7 separate regions of the Homo sapiens genome follow, and all the other regions are linked to region 1. Evidence: promoter capture Hi-C in 16 types of primary human blood cells and fetal thymus (Javierre and others, 2016). All regions are on one chromosome and are shown on one strand. Each heading gives the region's core, a stretch centred on a gene start or on the middle of the fragment in contact. The rest is flanking DNA. Distances are from core to core; before and after follow the strand shown. Region 1 holds the start of MED17 (mediator complex subunit 17). Region 2 overlaps FUT4 (fucosyltransferase 4). Region 3 overlaps C11orf97 (chromosome 11 open reading frame 97). Region 4 overlaps MRE11 (MRE11 double strand break repair nuclease). Region 5 overlaps MRE11 (MRE11 double strand break repair nuclease). Region 6 has its middle 16 kb from the start of SLC36A4. Region 7 has its middle 42 kb from the start of SLC36A4.

Region 1 (3,178 bases), core at 296-2,795:
CCGAAGCCCAGGGAGGAACTTGCATTATCATAAAAACTGTGTGTTATGTCTGTATCCCAGATGAATCAGATAATATCACTACGTTAATGGATAATATGAAAACCTTAACAACTAACCTTTCAGATCCAACACATCTTTAAACAACTGGCTAAGCAGCTAGTTTTGATCTTGAAGACTTGGTGGCAAAAGCTTTGCTTATTCTAGGAATCATAATCATTTGTTGTTGTCTTGTTTTTGTCTGCACTATTAGACTGCCACTGCGCCTGGCTATTAATCAGATTTTAAAATAAAGTTAAAAAAAATTTTTAAACAAATTTACACGAAAAGCAAGTACAGTGGTTCTCGAACATGATTGGGCGACAGACTGTACAGCTTGCCAGAAATAGGTTTCTCTCATGAAAATTCAACCCCCTCCACACACGGCCATCTACTTTCTTCTTCAGCAGGGACTGACACCAGGGCAACCGTATTTTCCTAAATACCTTAGGAAAGTAGTTCAAAACCTAGATATATCTTGGTCAGAACAAAACCTGGCAAACACTCATGATAAACGGTATATATAATTCCTTAAACGAAATATAGAGGTTTGTAATATAAAATAATCCATCTTTGTCTGTGGAATTCCTACTAATGAAATACGTTCTTGGAGACCCAAAGACTGAAGTTATACCACTTCTTCTTAATCTTTTAAATATTATTTGCAGGCCAGGCATGGTGACACGCTCCTATAGTCCCAGCTCCTCAGGAGGCTAAGGCAGGAGCATCGTTGGAGCCCAGGAGCTCCAGGCTGTAGCGTGCTGACAGCACTTGTGAATAACCTCTGCACTCAGCCTGGGCAACATAGTGGGACCCCATCACTAATAAAAAAGCGAGATCAACATTATTTATTCTGTTACTCGGGCATAAAATAAATATTAAGCACTTACTACATGCCAGAGTCTATTATGTCTGCTGCAGATATTGGCTGTCATAGAGTTATAACTAACAGGAAACCAAATAATTACGTAGTATAATTTTAAGTGGTGATAAGCACGATTGTTTCCCCCAAGCCATGCCCTTAATTTCTAACTCTTCAGATAGTGTTTCTTTAAAAAATTTCTTGCTAATTTAAAATAACTTTTGTTTTGAGGCAGGATCCCACTCTGTTGCTTAGGCTGGAATGCAGCGGTGAGATCTCGGCTCACTGCAGCCTCCATCTCCAGGGCTCAAGCCATTCTCCCGCCTCAGCCACCCGCGTAGCTGGACCACAGGCGCGCGCCACCAGATCTCAGTTCTCTCAACAGGACTCTCATTGCTAAGATCCAAGGATCCATTAATTTCCTTTTCCTTAACTCTTCTAGCCTCTGCAGCTTTCTTTCCTCATCCACTTTTTAAACAAACGCAGGCTTAAAAAGCAAGGAATATACCCGCCACACTCTCGGCTCCCAAACCGCTCTTTCCCTCCCTCTGCCGGCCACGCCTCTTATAGGCCCGGAAGTTTACCCCACCCTGCACCGTGATTCACCGGAAGCGCTCTAGGGAACCCTGGAGCTTCCGCGCCTGCCCAGTTTTGCTCCGAAAGACTTACCGAGGAGGGAGCTTGCGGTGCGTTCTGGGAAAGTTGCTGGGCCAGCTCCTTTGTTTCCAGTCTGAGCGTTGCGTTCGGTTTCCCGAGGGTCTTCTGAGGCACCGCGGCTGCGGGCTTCTGAGTTCCCGGCTCTCCGCAGGGAAGCCTCCTCTTCGTACCTCGTTTTTTGGCTCGTGGGGGGTCCTCCCACCGCTGGCCGACGCAGCCAGCATGTCCGGGGTGCGCGCAGTGCGGATCAGCATCGAATCGGCCTGCGAGAAGCAGGTCCATGAGGTGGGCCTGGATGGCACCGAGACGTACCTGCCCCCGCTGTCCATGTCGCAGAATCTGGCGCGTCTGGCCCAGCGGATAGACTTCAGCCAGGGTTCGGGCTCCGAGGAGGAGGAGGCGGCGGGGACCGAGGGCGACGCGCAGGAGTGGCCGGGCGCCGGGTCCAGCGCAGACCAGGACGACGAGGAAGGTAAGGCCTGCATCCGCTGCCCGAGTCCCCCGGTCTGGGTCCCAGCACCCGCGCGGGCCTCCGCCTCTCCCGCGATGGGGGTGATCTTGTGCGTGCGAGAACTTTTGAGTGTCCCTCTAGCGGAAGCGTAAGGATACTTGGTCGTCATCTTTTTGTTGCTGCCGGACAAGGTAGGACACGACTTTACGTAATACTCCTGCGGGTCTCCTTGAATGGCAGCGTTTAGAGACACTGTCAAACCGTGAAATGTTTAAATGAATGCTTCTCTGTAGAGGGCCTTTAATGTAGCACACTTAGTGGCTAAAAGAGCCCTAGATCGGGGCTCTGCCCCTTGCCGGCTGTGTGACCTTGGGCGAGTTACTTTGCATCCTTGTGCGGTGTGAATGATGATAGTAGCACCTGCAGAAAAGAGGTCTGTTTTGACTGAAATGTGTGACGAGGTCCAAGAGGTAGGCGGGTCCAGATCATGTAGAACCCAGTAGGCCGGGATAAGCGTTTGACTAGTGTTAAGACCACTGAAAGCTTTTGCAGGATAAGTAGAGATGGTTTTGTTAAAGTTTACTCTAGATGCTTTCTAATAAATGAATTATAGGGAAAGCAAAACTGGAAGGGAGGAGACTAGGAGGGAAGTGAAGAAATAATGAGTGGGTTTCAGATTCTCATTATTGTCAAGGATTTTTGAAAAAAAAATCAAAATTCTTAATTTAGTTATGCAGCACACCCAGTGTAAATGGGAATTTAAAGATGTCATTTCAGGGCAGTGCTGTTAGGATTATTAGGGGTCTATTTGCAAAAAAAGGTAAATACTACTTTATACCTCACACAAAAATTATTTCCACAGTAATTTTTGAGGATTGAAGTGCCAAATGAAGAAAGTAAAACAAAGTGTTAGAAGAAATAATGAAAGAATAGTTGTATTATTCTGGGAGTCGGATAGATCTTCTTAATTTCGGAAATAACAGGACAGGCATGGTGGCTCACACCTGTAGTTCCAACATTTTTGGAGGCCAAGGTGGAAGGATCACTTGAGCCCAGACTTCAAGACCAGCCTGAGCAACATAGGGAGCTCCTGCCTCTACAAATTAAAAAAATTAGCTGGGCGTGGTGGTGCACGTCTGTGGTCCCAGCTACTGGGGAGGCTGAGGGAGGAG
Region 2 (3,178 bases), core at 426-2,925, 760 kb after region 1:
CTCTTACAATCTATCACTTCCAAAAAGTAAATGGTGACTGATAAAACAATTGGCAGAACCTGTTTGATTACTGTGACAGTCTTAATGATACCATAAATCAATATTAGAAAGCTAGTTGACTTAAAGCCTGAAATAATGGGAGTTTTCTCCTCCACTTATTAGAATAAGGACCCTCAGTGACTAATTATTGTGGGTAGGGTCAAGATTAACTAGTTTTATACAGAGTTCTGCTGTAAATAGTCATTTTGCATTTGATTAGTGCAGTTCTCTGAATCATAAAGCAAGTTTTACCTCTCTGTACATGTTTTTGCAGACATACTTGAAAAGCTCACTTAAATCTAGGTGCTTCAATTCACTTTCTTGAGAGGACAAATGAAAAGCTGTGGAGAAAATGTCCTCATTAAAGTATTAAAGTGTGGGCAGAATTACAATTACAAAGTGCCAGCCACCGAATAAAGATAAAAGTTCAGTTCTTAAAATGAGTTTTTATGAGATAACAGTCAGTGATCTTGGTGTTACCGGGATTCCACATGGGGCAGTGGGAAAGAGTTCAGGTTTTGAAGGTAACCTAGTTTAGATTTGAATTCCAGCTATGTGACATTGGGTAAATTAGTAGTAGTCCTGAGCCTCAGCGTCCTCATCTATAAAATGACTGGCGAAAATACTTCACAAGCTCATTTTGAGCACTTTAGGAAGTAAGTGAAAGTACCTAAAATAGCAGGCACCCAATTGATGATTTTATATCTTCCTTCTTTGCTTGCAGTGATTTCAGGATGTCCTCATATCTATTTATAGGTCTAAAATTATATCTTAAGGTATGTTGTAGAATAAATTAAAAGGATAATCTAAATCACCATTTAGATTAAGCTTGACTTGCAAACTAGGAAGAAGCACCTAGGCTTTCTTTGAAAATATTTTTTTGGTTCGTTTTGGTAAAGCTCTATAAATTGGTATCTATTATTTTACCAATTTTTTTTTAGTATTAAGTCCATTTAGAACTAACCATATTATTTATGGAATAATTAGCATGAGGAAGGTATAATTGCATTTTTTTTTTTTTGAGACGGAGTCTTGCACTGTAGCCCCAGCTGGACTGCAGTGGCGTGATCTTGGCTCACTGCAACCTCCGCCTCCCAGGTTCAAGCGATTCTCCTGCCTCAGCCTCCCGAGCAGCTGAGACTACAGGCGCCTGCCACCACGCCTGGCCAATTTTTTGTATTTTTAGTAGAGACTGCGTTTCACCATGTTGGGCAGGCTGGTCTTGAACTCCTGACCTTGTGATCCACCTGCCTCGGCCTCTCAGAGAGCTGGGATTACAGGTGTGAGCCGCCGTGCCCAGCCATTGCATTTTTATTCACATACACATTGTTAATGTGGAACAATTTAACACTAATCTCATCAGAGAGCGAGATGAATGTGGCAATTGCTCATTTTATTTTGCATATATTAAATTGAGTAGGTTCAGCTCTAACATACCTTAAGAAAAATGCATATCGGTGCACTGTATGTATTTCAAAATGCCTTTCCTATGATTGTCATGTCCTCCTTTAAGGCTTTTCCCTCAAATTTATTACAAATTTAGTATTTTTAGTACTTGATGACTCTAATTACATGAATGCACCTGGAATGACATTTGTAACAGAAGACGGTCTGACTTGCTTTCAGTATTCACAAGTTCTTTCCAGTTTCCAAGTCTTTTCCTAGCAGTAATTTAGGGGAGACAGAGGAGTTTCATGTAAAGAGCATGCAGTTTGGAGTCAGAACCTGGGTATGACTCTGTGGCCTTGATGAAGCAAGTTACTTAAACTCTTGAGTTTTAGCTTTCTCCTTTACAATGCATGAATGCCTATCCCCCTACAAAACAAAGATTAAATGTGATGATGTATGCCAAGGTGCTTTGTATATTGTAAAGTGCTATATAATTATAAGATGTTCTAAATTTTCAAGGATCTAAACCAGGGATTGGCAAACGTTTTTCCAGGGAGTAAATATTTTACGCTTTGCATATATAATTTATGGAGGTGTTGAGAGGATAGATTAGACACTTGAAGTACTCAGGATAGTGCCTGGCATGTAGGAAGCACCTGGAAAATATTCGCTGTGATTACCATCAGTCCATTTTACCGAGGAAGGAGCCAAGGTCCAGGCCCACTGAAGGACTTGCATAACATTACAATAGCAGTGGCAGAACCAGCCATGCTTCTGCAAATCACAACCTCTTTGAGCCTCTGTCACCTGAACTGCAAAATGAGTGGGTTAGACAAAATCATCTGTTGGGACCTCCTAGTTCCACGTGCTATCATTCTACTAACTGGCACCCTAAGGTTGAAAGTGCTTATCTGCTTTCCAATGTGGCTTCCTTACAGTCTGGAACTGACAATATGCAGGAGCAGTAAACTGGCAGAAAACCAGGAATCAGAGAAAGAAAATATAATTTAACTTTAAAGATGTAAATTATATATATAGTATATTATATATATTTTTAAAGCTTTATATGCCTCAAATATCAGGGAAAGGAGCCAAGTCCTTGGTATTTAGTTTGGTGAATACTTGCATTGAATACATGTCAAGATGTCAAGTCATTTTTGAATGTGTCTCAGGGATTTCTATGCTACACATTCTTTTAACAAATCAAGTATTTATGTACACATGTTCAGATTTTTTGACAAAATGATTAAAATAATGAGATGGAAAATGACTCTGTTTATAATGTATATCCTCCATGCACTAATGTGTTCAGTCGTCACCCATGGGATATTTCTTGGCTTGGGGCAGTTTCTGTAAGTTCACTAGTTCTAGATTGGTAATTGGAATGTGATGGCTTTGCCTCTTCTGTGTTGCACAAAGTCCAATTCAGCCTGTCCTCTTGTTCTTTCTTGCCTGTCTTTTCCACTTTATTCTGAGGAATCATCTCCAAGGGCATAAGTAGTATACTCCTTTCTCTCAGTCCAGTTTATTTTCCTGAGTGCTCTGATGTGATGCCCTCCATGTATTGTCTCTAGCTCCTGTTCACTAAATTAAATGCCATTTTAAAAAGAGTAGGATCAGAACTGGGAACATGATGATGGGCAGAGAGAAGGGGAGGCAAGCTTTCTTCTTAACAGCCGATGCTTAAATTATTGAAATAGGAAAATACGAAGTGGTAATAAACACTAACTATTGTCTCTTCTTTCCTACC
Region 3 (3,178 bases), core at 359-2,858, 750 kb after region 1:
GTTTTATTCATTTACTTTTATCAATCCCAGCACTCTGGGAGGCCAAGGCGGGCAGATCACTTGAGGCCAGGAGTTCAAGACCAGCCTGGTCAACATGGCGAAACCCCGTCTCTACTAAAAATACAAAAATTAGCAGGCGGGGTGACGCACGCTTCTAGTCCCAGCTACTCAGGAGGCTGAAGAACCAGAATCGCTTGAACCTGGGTGGCAGGGGTTGCAGCGACCCAAGATTGGGCCACTTCACTCCAGCCTGGGTGACAGAGCAAGACTGTGTTTCAAACAAACAAACAAACAAACAAACGGTAATGGTTGATGACAAAAAACCTTTTATCGTTTCCTTCTTATTCTGTGCCACAAAACAAGCCAAAAAAAAAAAAAAAAAAAAAAGCATTGTCTAGTCTGGTGCTAAGCTTGAATGTGCCTACAATTCACATGGTATCTCAATAAAATTCAGACTCTGATACCATAGGTCTGGGGTGGGGTCTGAGATTCTGTATTTCCATCCAGCTCCCAGGTGATGCTGATGCTGCTTGTCCGGAAACTATGCTTCAGTCGTGAGGGTTTGGAAGACTAAGTAGTGGCTTTTCTGGTTACTGGGATGACATGGGTGTGGCTCTTACATTCTGCTCAATCAAATGGGAACATTAAGTCAAATTTAGATTAAAATGGGTGAGATTAAAGAGCATCTCCCCGAAGTAAAACACTTATTTTTTCACTTTTTTTTTTAACTCTAGGATAAGATGAATTAGATTTTCCATTAAGAAGGAACCTCTTTCTGCTGATGTCTGAAGAACGGAGAAGAAACTCAAGCTTGTTTCAGGATTTAAGATGTGTGCAAAAAAATGATAGCCTGTAATTACTATTATTGGTATTAATACCTATCTATAAATTAATCCAAAGTAATGAAAGACTATTGGTAATGTTCAGTAAGTACCTGAAAACAATAAAGGAAAATATACTTATTTTTAGTTGTCACAGTTATAATTCATTTGGCTTCTAATTCAGGTTATTTTATTAAATATGTGAAACAATGATGAAGCAAAGGCACGTTTACCGAGTATTTACTTCAAGGCAAACATTATAAACCTTAACCCTTTACTACAGCATAATGTGTTAGCCCATTTTTAAAAAACAGAACTAAATCCAGATACAGATAATGGTGAGTAAATGAATGACAGAAGAAAAGTCTTTGACTCAGAGACAAACATTTTTATGGTAACCTTGGTAGAGCTAATCATTTCTCTAGAACTTGTTCACTAAATAGTAAGGAGCCAGGAAATTTATGGTAAGATCTTAAAAAAGAAAGTATTTAGGCTGGGCACAGTGGCTCACACCTGTAATCCCAGCACTTTGGAATGCCAAGGCGGGCCGATCACTTGAGGTCAGGAGTTCAAGACCAGCCTGGCCAAAATGGTGAAACCCTATCTCTACTAAAAATACAAAACTTAGCCAGGCATGGTGGCACACTCTTGTAATCCCAGCTACTTGGGAGGCTGAGGCAGGAGAATCGCTTGAACCCAGCAGGCGGAGGTTGCAGTGAGCCAAGATCACACCACTGCACTCCAGCCTGAGTGAAAGAGTGAGACACTGTCTCGAAAAGAAAAAAAAAAGTATTTAAATAATACTGCCAAGTTAAAAAGAAGAAAAAAAAACTCCTTCCCTTTCCACCATTTGTCAAAGTAATATATGTGCAATATAGAAAAATTGGAAAATGAAGATATGTAAAGGAAAAAAACTCATCTGTAATTCCATTTCCAGAAAGAACTATTGAATTACATACTGTCCCATTCATTAAAATATCATGTTAAATAATTACATAAATTCTTAATATATTTGTTCTGAACTTATTTATTTATTACTCTATTTTTTTAATATTTGGGTTTTTCATATTTTTCATTTTATACATAACTGCTGTGATTTGTTTACACTCCCAGCCCCTACCCCTTACAAAGTTATTTTTTTCTAGTATTCTGGTTATACACTTTTCATTCTCCTTCCTCTCTAGACTCAGCTCATAAAACTTACTTCAGTTCCCTGTTCCCAAGTTCATAATTGTTTCTAATGTAACAAATCTAGTCAACAGATTTTTTGACTGAGTATGTCCCTTCCCTACTTAAAAATATTTGCACTATGAAACAGTCAATAATCTTGAGTCAAGATCCAAACCTTTCCAGATTTAATATAAAATTTTCCATTTAGCTACTGCCTGCTAGATGAGATCCTACATGTAAGCCAATTCTAGCCACCACCTTGTTTATGGAACTTTTTCATCACTGGCTACTTCAAAACAGTGTTACAGGGCAATGCCTAAAACTGAGGGATTACATCTGAAATTGGTTAAGAAATATAACACCCAAAACTGCCTAGTTAGGGCAAAGCATTTACTATTTGTAGAAATCTAAAATCTTAAGCTTCTAAAAATTCTTACACCCAACCTCATCGCATGTATGTTAGGATGTCACACAGAAAGTGCAATGGGTGGGAGACTTTTGTTAATCCATTGGAAATTATATCCTGTTCTTACTTGAGTTCCCAGTATGACTTTATAAACGTGCTCAGGGATTTCCTTTCTCACTTCCACTATATTCCTGCCAATAAACAAGCTCCTTGTCATTTATTTTCAGATTTGCTGCCTGGGCTGGGTGCTCTGAATTGGTCTCTCCTTTTCTGACCATCCTCTACTACTAAGAGTTGTTCTCATGGCACTGTTTCTGTGTTAAAGTTTCATTCTTATTCCACTCTGGGGACCTGGTTCCTTTTGTAGTTGAATTCTGTTCTTCATTGCCCCATTGCGTATTTTCCCAACTAGATTCATGTACAGGCATTATTTATAATAGTGAATAACTGAAGCCACCTAAAATGCCCGATAGGAGATGATTTTTTAAAGTTACTATATAATATGATGCAACTGTTTTGTTTTGCTTTTTAACTCTATAAGTATTTTTCTTAATAAAGCAGGATTACAAGGAGGTTTCTTTAAAATTATAAAAATATACAGCAATCTTAAGCCAACAGTCATTTTCATACTTAATGATGTAATACCCTAGAAACACTCCTACTATTATCTGGAATAAAACAAAAATGCTGTTTTTTCCAAACATGTTTGCAACTTGCTCACTTTCCCTTTTCATTTTATCTGCCTCCTGGCTCCAGGGTCCTTGAGTTTCAGGGCCCTTAG
Region 4 (3,178 bases), core at 198-2,697, 690 kb after region 1:
TACATTATAACATGTGCAGAAATAAATATTAAAAGGGATGATAAAAGTGTATTTAAAAACAATATTCTTACATTGTTTTAATATATTGTGCTTTTTAAATAACTCAATGACTTTCAAACAATTCTCATACTCCACAGGTTCACCTTGATCTAGTGAAAGAAACTAACAAAAACAAGTCAACAAAATAGTTACAAATATTAAATATTATAAAAGGAGAAAAAGCCAGGATGCTAAGATGGCGAATTAACACTATGGAATTAAAAGGGTGGACAACACTGCTACTTTATATACGGATTAGAGAGGGTCTCAGAAGAAAAGCCAACAATGTAGAAGTCTAGAAGTTAGAAGTGGCCTAGCTCCCAAGGAGAATGCTACAGGAGTGGCCAATGGAATACATGGCTGAGGTGGAATGTAGAACATGTAACTGGAGACAAAAAAGTCAAGGCACACAAAGCCCAAGGCATTAGAAGATTAATCTACTTGAGTGTTGAAACACTAAAAACACTGGCAAAATTGAAGGTAGGTAAGTAGGTAAAAAGTCTGAGAGAAAAAGCAATGCGGTTTAGCCAGATGGCAGAAGCTTAAAGGGAACAGTGTGTTTGCAGGCAGAAAAGGAAGCAGTGGGTGGAGCAAGGAGAACAGTGATCCCCGCTTCTTTCCAAAAGCCCAGGGGTAAGAGAACTGCATGGGACACAGGAACCTCAGGGGACAGCTGGGCTTCACTGAAGGTTAGAAAGTGGAGGTAACATTCAGAGAAGAGACTGATAATAATGAGGAATCTGATAATTATAAAAAGAGTTCTAGAGTTTATAATGAAGAGCTGGGGGACAGGGAGGGGTGCAGGGTGGAGACAGAGTCCAGTTAAGGAAGGTATAATAGAACAGGATAAGATAAGAGTTTGGGAGAAAATGGATGACTGGAGAGATGTGCTTCTGGTGGTGACTGAGGCATAATGGAATCTGTCCTTAGTCTGAATGGAGGAGGAAAGGCAATTTTCTGGAGATATGATCCCTAATAACACTGCAGTGATTAAAACAACTGTTAATAGCTTTTTTAAGAAAAGTATATTTCACTTCCTGCTCTTTCACTTGCAGAATCAGATATAACATCCAGATTTCATTTTCCTTATCTCTAAAATATAAATAACCATGATGCTTTTCTACTTGCCAGAGGTATTATGAAAGCTGCACAAAATTATAAGCTAGCGGTATTGTACAGTGAAGCATTAGACCTTTCAAAGACTTCCAAGATATCAAAGTGCAGTTTTGCTAATTATTCTATAATTCTAACATTCAGGATTCTACACCTGAGTCTAAAAAAAACCCAAAATAATAAATAGTAACGAAAAGACATTTTTTCACCAAAAATTTTTACCAAAACCATCCATCATTTTTTATAGTCACCAATAAAGAATAAGGTTTGCCCCATTTTTTCCAAACAGATACAAACTTATCTCCAAATTTCTCAATTGTTTAAAGAATCACACATGGACATAAACAGTAAAATAAAACTGTCTTACCTAAACCATATAGCGCAATCTTTGTGCTTCCTTTTTGAAGCAAAACCGGACTAATGTCTATCTTCTCCACAGACATTGAACGTCCAAAGTGATTTACAAATCCAGCACAACTTAAAATGTCCAAGGCACAAAGTGCATCTGCCTATGCAAAATAATTTCAAAGAATGTTAGTGTGTATGTAAAAGTAGGTATCTGCATGAATATCGTATCACCTGTTAAAAGCATACTCCATATTCTACTTACAAAAACATAGATGAGGATAGTGTCTTCTCAAAACAAAATTACAATAGTAAAAGTATTTGCTACATTTTTGTACTACAAATCACCTACAGCAACTGGAATCACATGCCAAAGGCAAGGTTAATATCTCATCAAAACTTATGATGTCTTGGCCACAAAAAAATAAAAATTAGCCATGAGATAAATGCTTTGTAATATTAAGCAACCGTCTTAAAGCCTGGGGAAAAAAGACCATAGATAATCAGTGATTCATAATATTAATGACCAGATAAAATGAAAAAATACTTGTAGGATCTCTAGTCTTACTTCCATATCAAACAGGTAATAAGATAATCTAATTTAGATTTAAAGATGGTCTTGAACAATCATTTCCTAAAAGTGAGATTTTATAAGATAGTTATAAAAACACTGACAAACTGTAAACCACTATACAGATGTTAGGTGTTCACTCCTACTCCTGGCTTCTTATTGTTAACATCAGTATTAATGAAATAAAAGCATAGCTCATACACCAATTCTTATTTCAGATTTTTAAAAAATCTAAAAAGCAGTATAAAAGCTTGTATGAATGTGAAAAGTCAACTTGACTTTTGACTCAATTTGACTACACAATGAGAAAAAGGGAAGGCATGCTTTCCACAGACAAACTAAACTGATCATTTCCAAAATTCCAACAAACTCTAAGAAAACAATAATTACCCCTGTGGGATCGTCATGATTGCCATGAATACTAAACACTGGAATTGAAATGTTGAGGTTGCCATCTTGATAGTTCACCCATGGAAACCTTAAAAAAAAAAAGTTACTTAAAATTTCCATACGGGACAAAAGCTGTTTTCCCTAAGATTCTCCTCCAAAATATTAATGCAATCATAGGCAAACTGCATAATCTACATTGGCATATGACCACTAGTTTAGAGCTTTAAAAAATAAAATCATAGGCGACAATTCATTTCAATTAGTTTGAAAATATCTCAAAGCACTACATTTTAAAGAAACCCCAACTATAATAAACAGTGCTTGTGGTATGTATGAGTAGTATATCTAATTAATGAAAAGTTAATAAGCCTTCAAAATTTTAAAAACTTAGCATATGGTTTTTATTCGTAGTGGGGGGAGGGAAGAAAATCCATATACTTTAGAATCCCAAAGAGGTAGATTAAAACTCCCAGCTCTATCACTTATTGCCTGTTCAAATTAAAGTCTCCTGTCAGCCCCTGCCCCCAGCCATCCAGCTCCTCTTCTCAGAGGCAAATAATGTTAGCAATTTCTAGTGCATCTTTCAAAAGGATCCTATACCTATCCACACAAATAAACAGATTTTTCTTTCTCCTTACATAAATGATAGAAAAATATACATTTCTGCATCCTGCTTTTATCACTCAACATATTTTAGAAATCATTCCACATCAGTACATG
Region 5 (3,178 bases), core at 464-2,963, 660 kb after region 1:
TAAAATATCAATAGATTTGGACAGTTGGGTATGCCTGCATAACTCTTACTGACCTAAGTCTTTTTCACCTGGGTTGCTGTTAAACTCACATACCTCTCACAACTCTACTTGTGCAGCTGTCCTTTTGGACATAAATGTGGTTTATATTACCCTTGATAAACTTCATCTTCTGAGAATTAGTTCAGCTCCCCAGTGTGTCAACAATTAATCCTAGCTATAAGATTATAAATATTACAATTATAATATTTAAAAAATATTTATAATTATAAAAGTGAAACAATAACCTCAAATAACTGATAATATAAATAATATACATATGAATATATTCTAAATGCTAGGTAGAAAAAAGTATCACCACCTATCTTAATGCATACTTTTTGTAAATATGACTAACATTTTAGGCTGATCTCATCATCTATAATATTAAAAATAGTTAAACAGATCCCCTTGAGGCCAATTTTTAGACCATAGGATATACACAAATTAATTCCAAGGGCCTAGCCATAATTTCTCTTAAATATAGGTCACATGACTTCTCTATATGGAAAGCAGAGACTGACAGGGCAGTATGGGGGAAGCAAGGAAACAGTAGAGACAGTTCCTCTCTCTTTCGACCACTGTCCATATAGTGACCAACTACTTCACTTTCCTGTTTCCAGGGTCTCTCTGCCAAACAGAAACAGCATTTGTCTGAAAGTAAGAAATTATAAAACATAATTTTTGTTTTGTTTTGTTTTGTTTTTGAGACGGAGTCTCTCTCTGTTGCTAGGGTAGAGTCCAATGGCATGATCTTGGCTCACTGCAACCTCCAGTTCCTGGGTTCAAGTGATTCTCCTGCCTCAGCCTCCCAAGTAGCTGGGACTACAGGCATGTGCCACCACGCCTGGCTGATTTTTGTATTTTTAGTAGAGACCGGGTTTCACCATGTTGGCCAGGCTGGTCTCGATCTCCTGACCTCGTGATCTGCCTGTCTCGGCCTCCCAAAGTGCTGGGATTACAGGTGTGATCCACTGTGCCTGGCCTATAAAACATGATTTTAAAAGCTTACCCTCTTCAGTAACTCTAATGCATAGCAAAGATCTTTTAAAAAATAATTTATCCTGTGATCCTAATTGCCCTTATAACTTCCCAATGATTGCAACACAAATAAGGGCTACCAATGGTGATTACCTTGGTCTTTCTAATGTTGGAATTTATAAATAATCACTTGCAGTCTATACTCACCATCTATAATAGACATATTTCTAGATGCTGACACAGCAGTCTTTGAGTTCCTGCTACGGGTAGAAGTCTCCAGACCAGTGTCTGCTGTTAGAAAAATGAACAGTCAATGTACAAGCCTATCAGCAGCTAAGGTTTATTTCATACAACACTAAAAAATGAAAGCTAAATAAACTTATGTCAAATAGTTTGTCTGTAAAAAGCCAGACATATATATAAGAACAAACATCTAGAGTCTGACCAATTTTCAGAGACTATTCTTTTAGGCCACACTTCAGTTTATCCAATTTAATTTATCCAATTAAAATGTAAGGAAATAGGCTGGACGTGGTAGCTCACGCCTGTAATCCCAGCACTTTGGGAGACAGAGGCGGGAGGATCACTTGAGGTCAAGAGTTCAAGACTAGCCTGGCCAACATGGTGAAACCCCACCTCTACTAAAAATACAAAAATTAACTGGCATGATGATGGGCCCCTGTAATCCCAGCTACCTGGGAGGCTGAGGCAGGAGAATTGCTTGAACCTGGGAGGCGGAAGTTGCAGTGAGCTGAAATCGCACCATTGCACTCCAGCCTGGGCAACAGAGCAAAGACAAGACTCCATCTCAAGAAAAATTAAAAAACAAAAATAAAAATTTTTAAGGAAAAATTTTGTAAATGTAAGAATAGTGAAAATAATCATCATTAAAAGATGAGGATTTCTCTCCCTGGAGATTTTAAACCAAATTAATATTCATTTCACCAGCTTAAAATTCCTATGGATGCATATTTAATAAAAACAATTTTAAAAAATCTTTAGAGATGAACTGACATAATGTGTGAGAAAGTCACTGAGTGACCAATTTCTATTGGCGTGAACTATTCAATGACAATAGTCTCACAGTAAATACAATGTTGACTATGTTAATGACTAGTTTTAGGAATCAAATTGGGGGGCAGTTTTCTTTCTTAAACTGACTTTATAAAGACTACTTGATAAGCATATGTGTATTTGTATCTTATGACAGTAACAAAAATAATAATTGTATGATCTGGAGTTTTCCTCCTGTTGCCAAAGGCTTTTAGCTATTTTCTTTAACAACTCATATTTGCCTATTACTTTGCACATGTGAAAATACATATGACATTAAATGTATCCAAAAGGTACTACGTGACAAACACAGTGAAGCTTTTATAAGGTATGTGCTAAGAACAATTAAAACCCTAAGTGCATGTGGCCATTCAAAATTTATTTAAGTAAAAGGCACATGTCAGAACTGCCTTAAAGACTGTCTTTATATATTATAAAAATAGATTTTTAAAGAACCGTGTTTTAGAAATAAAACTTATAATTCAACTCTGACAAGATCTAATTCTGTATTTTCCACTCAACTGCCAAGTGTGAATGTGCACAGGACTGAACTCAGTGCTCACCTCTTCCTCTTTGAGACCCTCCTCTCGATGCTGAATTCTGCCCTCTTCCACCTCTTCGACCTCTTCCTCGGCCTCTTCCTTTGTTGGTTGCTGCTGAGATGCTATCATCAGAGTCATTAGCCATCTGTTCTGCTAAATCTATACTCATAAGGTCATCAGCACTAAAGGCAGAAGCAGACTCCTCTGACTGAGATCTGAGTGCTCTGGCCCTGGTCATAGCCTAAGAGGGAGAAGAAGGAGAAAGTACACACAATGAGATAACGTACCATCCTAAAAATCATTAATTTAGGCATTGACATGAACTAATCATACTATAAAAACATAAAGGAGGCTGACACAGTGGCTCACGCCTGTAATCTCAGCACTTTGGGAGGCCGAGGCGGGAGGATCACTTGCACCCAAGAGTTTGAGACAAGCCTGGGCAACACAGCGAAACCCCGTCTCTACAAAAAAAAAAAAAAAAAAAAAAAATTAGGCATGGTGGCATGCACCTGTAGTCCCGAGCTACACAGGAGGCTGAGGCAGGAGGATCACTTGAGCCTAGG
Region 6 (3,178 bases), core at 369-2,868, 570 kb before region 1:
TGGATAAAGAAAACGTGGTATATAATATGTATATGTACACACAATGGTATTTTATTCAGCCTTAAAAAAGAATGAAATCCCGTCATTTCTAACAATATGAATGAACCTAGAGGCCACTTTGCTAAGTGAAATAAGCCAGGCATAGAAGAAAAATGCTGCATCATCTTACTTACATTGGGATCTTAAGAAGTTGAACTCATAGATGCAGAGAGTAGAACGGTAGTTGCTAAGAGCTGGGGGTGGAGGAAATAGGGAGATATTGGTGAAAGAGTACAAAGTCTCAGTTATGCAGCATGATGACTGCAGGTAATAATTCTCGAGTTTATACTTGAAATTTGCTGAGAGTAGATCTTAAATGTTCTCTCCACACATTCAGCAATAAAGATAACTATGCAAGGTGAGGGATATGTTCATTAGCTTAATATTGGTCATCATTTTCACAATGTATGCATATAACAAAAGATCATATTGGACACTGTAAATATATATAGTTTTCATCAATTATGCCTCAGTAAAATTAGAAATGGAAAGAAAGAAAAGACAAGCTTAGACAGACTCAGAGACTTACCCAAAATTTCACAGATCAAAACCAAATCTAATTTCAACTTTAGGACATATACTATTATCCACTCTGCCTCATAGCTTCTTGAGATCCTAAGCAGCTAAGCTGACAGGTTGTGAGAGCCACTCACAGTTCTGACCATTGGTCAGTGGTGTGATTTAGTCATTACAACATTGTACATTTCTGTCTATCCATTTTCATATAGCTAATGAAAGATTCAGAAGATCAGCCTGAAATCAGGTAACTGAGCTTCACTGATGGCGGTTAATTCCAACATAAATGCCACAACCAACATATTAAGCATTGTCTTCTGAAAATACTACTCTTTGAAGGACAATAAAAAAGTGACTTGGCCGGGCACAATGGCTTACGCCTATAATCTCAGCACTTTGGGAGGCCGAGGTGGGTGGATCACGAAGTCAGGAGATTGAGACCATCCTGGCTAACACGGTGAAACCCTGTCTCTACCAAAAACACAAAAAATTAGCCATAGTGGCATGCGCCTGTAGTCCCAGCTACTCAGGAGGCTGAGGCAGGAGAATCGCTTGAACCTGGGAGGCAGAGGTTGCAGTGAGCTGAAATCATGCCACTGCACTCCAGCCTGAGGGACAGAGCGAGACTCCGTCTCACAAAAAAAAAAAAAAAAAAAGTGACTTATGGTGAGTGCTGGAAAGGACACTTTTATTTTCCCACATGTAAGTTATTCCCTTTGGTATTTAACATGACTGGTAAAAGGCTTTAAAGCTTATAATAAATCTCAAGTGTACTCCCGAAGGCTCAAAAGAAAAAGGGTGCTTTACGAAATTTGCTTCTTTCCATTCTAAGCATTATGTATTGGTTAGACATTAACTTGCAAGGAAATTATTTCACTTGTGTTGTCTTCAAATAAAACTATTATCATGCCGAGTACAAAAGTCTGGGTTTTCTCTTGATGCTAAGGACTCATGATCCTCACATGTAAATTTAACTTGATAAGTCCTCTCTATTTCAGGATTTTAACATCAAGGTCTAGTTTGGGATTTAATTTGACAGGCTGTACCTGTCAGTTTTTGTATAGTTTACTTTCATCACAGTTCAAAAGGAGTGTGTGAAAGACTTACTTGTGGTAAGTAGGTCACCTGAGACACATGTTATGCATGAGGAATCCTGGAATTCCTGCTACCTGGGACACTTTTCATGATTATTCAAGGAGCTTGCTCACAATTTAATAACCTTGTTGACAATACCAACCACATTGGGAAAGAATAGTTCCATACTCATTTGGGAAATCTGCTTAAGAGATATAGATTCCCCATAGAACTGATCAGAGAAAATAAACACCAACATATATGTGCTTTTTGGTAATAAAAATAAGTGGCATGGAAGTTAGAAAGCTTCCATTCAGGAAAAAGGAGAAGTTCCAGTTGGAGGACTGCATTCTAGCCCATGCCCTCAGAAGATTTTGAGATAAGAGGTCCTTGGAAAAAGGTACCATTTAAGAAAATGTCACCAACCCATTTTCTTTAAGACCAGGCTGGTAGCCAATCACATTATGCTTCATTTATAGGATACTGTTCCTGTTAATTTTGTTTTTTAGTGATAACACACAATTGTTCCTCATCTGATTTTTCCCTCATAAAACAGCTAAGCATTTTGATCTGACTTTCTCAATAGACTGCATTCATTGTATAATAAATTAGATCAATGATTGATTACTTAATAATAGGCCATTGTATTAAGTCAAAGAAGTGAGAAATTGACCAAGAACAGTTCATTTTGTGTATTATAAATGGATACTAATCCATCCATCCTCTATTTAGGTCTTTGGGTTCCATTACTTATGTCAAGAGGCTATTTACAATCTAACAAGTTTGACCTTATCTCCATTGGTGATCTTTCAAATGTGGCTCTATAAGGAAACCAAAATACCTAGAATTACAGGATTTGGCATACTCCAAAACAACATCAGTGACCCATTCAGATTGAGAATTATTTAACATTCACTGTTCTAGGCATCATGCTTAGTGTTTTCTTATACGTTATCTCATTTAATCTTCACAATAACCCTACAGAAATAAATATTATGATCAATATTTTACAAATGAACAAACTGAGGTTCAGAGAAGAAGTAAATTCTAAGGCTTAGTAGTCACAAGAACCAAACCCAGGATCCCAATTCCAATCTGATGAATTTTTTTTTTTCCCCCTGAGACAGAGTTGCCCAGGCTGGAGTGTAGTGGTGTGATCTCAGCTCACTGCAACCTTCACTTCCCAGGTTCAAGCGATTCTCCTGCCTCAGCCTCCTGAGTAGCTGGGATTACAGGCACACGCCACCATGCCCTGCTAATTTTTTTTTTTTTTTTTTTTTTTTTGAGACGGAGTCTCGCTCTGTCGCCCAGGCTGGAGTGCAGTGGCGGGATCTCGGCTCACTGCAAGCTCCGCCTCCCGGGTTCACGCCATTCTCCTGCCTCAGCCTCCCAAGTAGCTGGGACTACAGGCGCCCGCCACTACGCCCGGCTAATTTTTTGTATATTTTTAGTAGAGACGGGGTTTCACCGTTTTAGCCGGGATGGTCTCGATCTCCTGACCTCGTGATCCGCCCGCCTCGGCCTCCCAAAGTGCTGGGATTACAGGCAC
Region 7 (3,178 bases), core at 276-2,775, 540 kb before region 1:
CAATTTCTGACAAAGGAGGATATCTTCAGGCTATTGCTCCAAAGAGAGATGTTTTTTTCTTCCATTTAATTCAGGGAAGCTTATAAAAGCCCCTTTGGAAAAAAATGATCTTTGCAGAAGGTGTTCATGAGCAGAGAGCATTTTCTTTCAGAGTACACTCATACTTGAGGGACACTATACCTGCCATTATGTGGGTTTCTCTCATAGTGAATAGGAACAGAAATAAAGGAATAGAAGTGCATGTGATGGAATGCGTGTGGTTACCATGCAAAGGTGTGAAATTTCAGCCATCTTAAGTCTGAGAACTCTGCAAACCAGCCTAATCACAGGGAAGCAATTCATCTGCAGTGGAATGCTGAGGACTAAGCTAGAGCAGCACTTTGAGTGAAACAAAGAAGTGTAACATCTAACAGCAGGATAGGAGAAATGAAAAATTCCAGACAAGTACCAGCACAGGCAGAATGCTAGACATTCTGGCTAAGGCATTCACCAGGTTTCGCTCATCAGAATGCAATGTCCATGAAGGCAGGGACTTTCTCTCTCCAATCAACATGGTATCCCCAGCATTTAGTCAGGGCTTGGTGTAGAATGGGAGCTTAATATTTATTGAGTGAAACATGAATAGTATGTTGGTTCAGAAGGGATGATTATACCAAAACCATAGCTAATCACTTGCAGTGCATGTCTTTATGCTTAAGTATTAGTAAGTACTCTATAATTCATTTTGAAGGATAAAATGAATATGCCAATGATTGATACTTGTTATATTAGGTAGGTTACTAACTCAACTAGCAGAAAACTTCTGAATCTGCTTCTTTCTATCAGACTCTGTGTAATCTTCTAAAGGTAGACGACTTTGAATAGCTGGGTTGTTGTCTTTTCCTTTTGTGGTTTATAAATAACTGATTGCTCCTGAATAGCACTGTTAGTTTCAACATTTCCTGATTGGAACCACTTCCACTGATAAGGGAAAACCAGAAGAACTTTCTTCTGAAAACTTAATTTTTAGTCATAGAATCTTGAGTGATTAAAGAAAATAAAAGGCCCTGGATAATATAATTTTTATAATGTTGTTTTTCTTCTTTTTGCTTTTTTACTTTCATTCTTTTGGTGAAGGGGTATATATTAGGGAGAATATATGGCTGTTTGGAAGAGATTGGAAATAGTATAATTTTGTATCCTGTAAAATTTTTCAGTATTCCTCTGGCAAGATGATCTCTGCCAGACTCTCTCTATATATTTTTAAATTATCTCAGTGTTCTAGGTGTTATAGGTCAGAGGAATGTGTTCTTATGACATAGATACTTCATTCTCCAATGAGGGGCTGCTATCTTTCTTCTGGGATTCTCACACTGTTTGAATATAAATCTGTACTAGTCAGGGATATTGCTGCCATCACATGGATATGATCTCACTGAGAATGAAACTAACGTAGAAGAAAGCAAAGATAAGAGAGGGGAGAGCAAGCGCACAAGAGGTATTGTGTATGTAGTGCTATTCAGCCATAAAAAAAAAAAGATGACATTCAGTCATTTGAAATAATAGAAATTGAACTGGAGATCATTGCGTTTAGTGAAATAAGCCAGACACAGAAAGACAAACATCTCAGGTTCTCACTTACTTGTGGGATCTAAAAATCAAAACAATTGAACTCATGGACATGGAAAGTAGAAGGACAGTTACCAGATGCTGGGGAGGATAGTGGCAGGCTGGCAGGGAGGTGGGATAGTTAATGAACACACACACACAAAAAAATGAATGAATATGACCTACTATTTGATAGCACAAATGGATGACTATAGTCAATAACTTAGTTGTACATTTTAAAATAACTTAAAGAGTGTAATTGGATTATTTGTAACTCAAAGGATAAATGGTTGAGGCAATGGATACCCCAATTTCCGTAATGTGCTTACTTCACATTGCATGCCTGTATCAAAACATCTCATGTACCCTATAAATACATATACCAACTATGTACCCACAAAAATTTTAAAAACTTAAAAAAAGTTAAAATAAAAAAAGTAGTATTGATTGACATCCTAGATGAAGCTACACCTGGATTCAGCTGTGTCTGTTCCTCCTCAACTTACCAGTTTCATGTGCAAAACAGTTTGAACTAGGTTTCCTGATGCTTGTCTGCAAAAGATTATTCACTGATATCGAGAGAGATGTTACTTGTTGAAGTAAAGAGTGAAGATTTGTTCTACATCCTATTCTCTTACCTCCTGTGCTGCACTGAAGGAAGGAGCAGAGCTGAAAATGAACTTGATAAAATACACAAGATTAAAATTATTATACAAAAATAAAATAGATTTGAGAACCAGAGCAATGTCCAATGCTTGTGATGAATCTTAGATAAATAATGGCTGCTAGACAAATAAAAAGGACAATATTCTGAAAGAAAAATGTCATTTTATTCCTTCTATGTGTACACCGACATCGCTTTGCATCACAGCCTTTTTCATCTAATGTGGCAAAATCTGTGTCTCTCTAATGTATTTGTGTGAAGTTCTCAGCATAGAGACATTACTATGGCCAGGTGATATAAATCAATGATTCTTAACTTGGGTACTGTATACTATGCAGAGAGGGCTTAAAAATGTTGCCTGGAGTTGACCGGGTGAGGTGGCTCATGCCGGTAATCCCAGCACTTTGTGAGGCCGAGACGGGCGGATCACGAGGTCAGGAGATCGAGACCATCCTGGCTAACATGGTGAAACCCCGTCTCTACTAAAAATACAAAAAATTAGCCGGGCATGGTGGCAGGCACCTGTAGTCCTAGCCACTCAGGAGGCTGAGGCAGGAGAATGGCGTGAACCCGGGAGATGGAGCTTGCAGTAAGCCAAGATCGCGCCACTGCACTCCAGCCCAGGCGACAGAGAGAGACTCCGTTTCAAAAAAAAAAAAAAAAAATTGTCTGGAGTCTATGAACCAATAGGCATCGTGTCAGGCTAGAAGTAGATCTCAATAAAGCTTTGTGATTCAATGAATGAATATACACATAAGGCATTACCAATGACATTACAAATGAAATACTTGACACATACGGATACATTCTTTTGTTTTACAAGTAGAAAGATGTGTTGTAATTAATAAAATAATAAAATAAAAATTCATTAAAGAACCTTACTGATTTAATAAAAGCTTCTCCCGTCTCAATTAATAGACACTCAAG

The links. The method cuts DNA at HindIII sites, captures the fragments that hold promoters and counts their contacts. A CHiCAGO score of 5 or more calls a contact.
Region 2: a contact is called between a fragment that was not itself captured here and the fragment with the promoter of MED17 in region 1, in 1 of 17 cell types (non-activated CD4 T cells). The highest score is 6.5, in non-activated CD4 T cells.
Region 3: a fragment that was not itself captured here is called in contact with the fragment with the promoter of MED17 in region 1 in 8 of 17 cell types (activated CD4 T cells, M0 macrophages, naive CD4 T cells and 5 more); the score reaches 6.9 in activated CD4 T cells.
Region 4: a contact is called between a fragment that was not itself captured here and the fragment with the promoter of MED17 in region 1, in 14 of 17 cell types (naive CD4 T cells, megakaryocytes, M1 macrophages and 11 more). The highest score is 9.2, in naive CD4 T cells.
Region 5: a contact is called between a fragment that was not itself captured here and the fragment with the promoter of MED17 in region 1, in 5 of 17 cell types (M0 macrophages, total CD8 T cells, naive CD4 T cells and 2 more). The highest score is 7.6, in M0 macrophages.
Region 6: a fragment that was not itself captured here is called in contact with the fragment with the promoter of MED17 in region 1 in 1 of 17 cell types (monocytes); the score reaches 6.8 in monocytes.
Region 7: a fragment that was not itself captured here is called in contact with the fragment with the promoter of MED17 in region 1 in 1 of 17 cell types (monocytes); the score reaches 6.3 in monocytes.

Annotation. Positions count from the first base shown.
Region 1 is chr11:93,782,737-93,785,914 of GRCh38, forward strand. It overlaps MED17 (mediator complex subunit 17), which reads left to right and starts at 1,546. Exons shown (of 12, transcript NM_004268.5): 1 at 1,546-2,027. The coding sequence starts at 1,778. RefSeq lists enhancers at 1,367-1,661, 1,603-1,822 and silencers at 1,953-2,082, 2,084-2,278. The HindIII fragment of the contact is 2,360 bases long and covers 188-2,547 here.
Region 2 is chr11:94,547,201-94,550,378 of GRCh38, forward strand. FUT4 (fucosyltransferase 4) reads left to right here. Exons shown (of 1, transcript NM_002033.4): 1 at 1-2,695. All of the region lies in intron 4 of PIWIL4-AS1 (PIWIL4 antisense RNA 1), which reads right to left. Among named protein-coding and RNA genes, the nearest start is that of FUT4, 4.9 kb to the left of the region's middle. The HindIII fragment of the contact is 1,621 bases long and covers 866-2,486 here.
Region 3 is chr11:94,531,162-94,534,339 of GRCh38, forward strand. It overlaps C11orf97 (chromosome 11 open reading frame 97), which reads left to right. Exons shown (of 4, transcript NM_001190462.2): 4 at 735-962. The coding sequence ends at 739. Among named protein-coding and RNA genes, the nearest start is that of FUT4, 11 kb to the right of the region's middle. The HindIII fragment of the contact is 1,601 bases long and covers 809-2,409 here.
Region 4 is chr11:94,477,216-94,480,393 of GRCh38, forward strand. MRE11 (MRE11 double strand break repair nuclease) reads right to left here. Exons shown (of 20, transcript NM_005591.4): 5 at 2,459-2,546; 6 at 1,520-1,661. Among named protein-coding and RNA genes, the nearest start is that of MIR548L, 12 kb to the left of the region's middle. The HindIII fragment of the contact is 1,738 bases long and covers 579-2,316 here.
Region 5 is chr11:94,444,586-94,447,763 of GRCh38, forward strand. MRE11 (MRE11 double strand break repair nuclease) reads right to left here. Exons shown (of 20, transcript NM_005591.4): 15 at 2,634-2,853; 16 at 1,225-1,308. Among named protein-coding and RNA genes, the nearest start is that of MIR548L, 20 kb to the right of the region's middle. The HindIII fragment of the contact is 1,345 bases long and covers 1,042-2,386 here.
Region 6 is chr11:93,212,124-93,215,301 of GRCh38, forward strand. No RefSeq gene overlaps it. Among named protein-coding and RNA genes, the nearest start is that of SLC36A4, 16 kb to the left of the region's middle. The HindIII fragment of the contact is 629 bases long and covers 1,305-1,933 here.
Region 7 is chr11:93,238,760-93,241,937 of GRCh38, forward strand. No RefSeq gene overlaps it. Among named protein-coding and RNA genes, the nearest start is that of SLC36A4, 42 kb to the left of the region's middle. The HindIII fragment of the contact is 2,897 bases long and covers 78-2,974 here.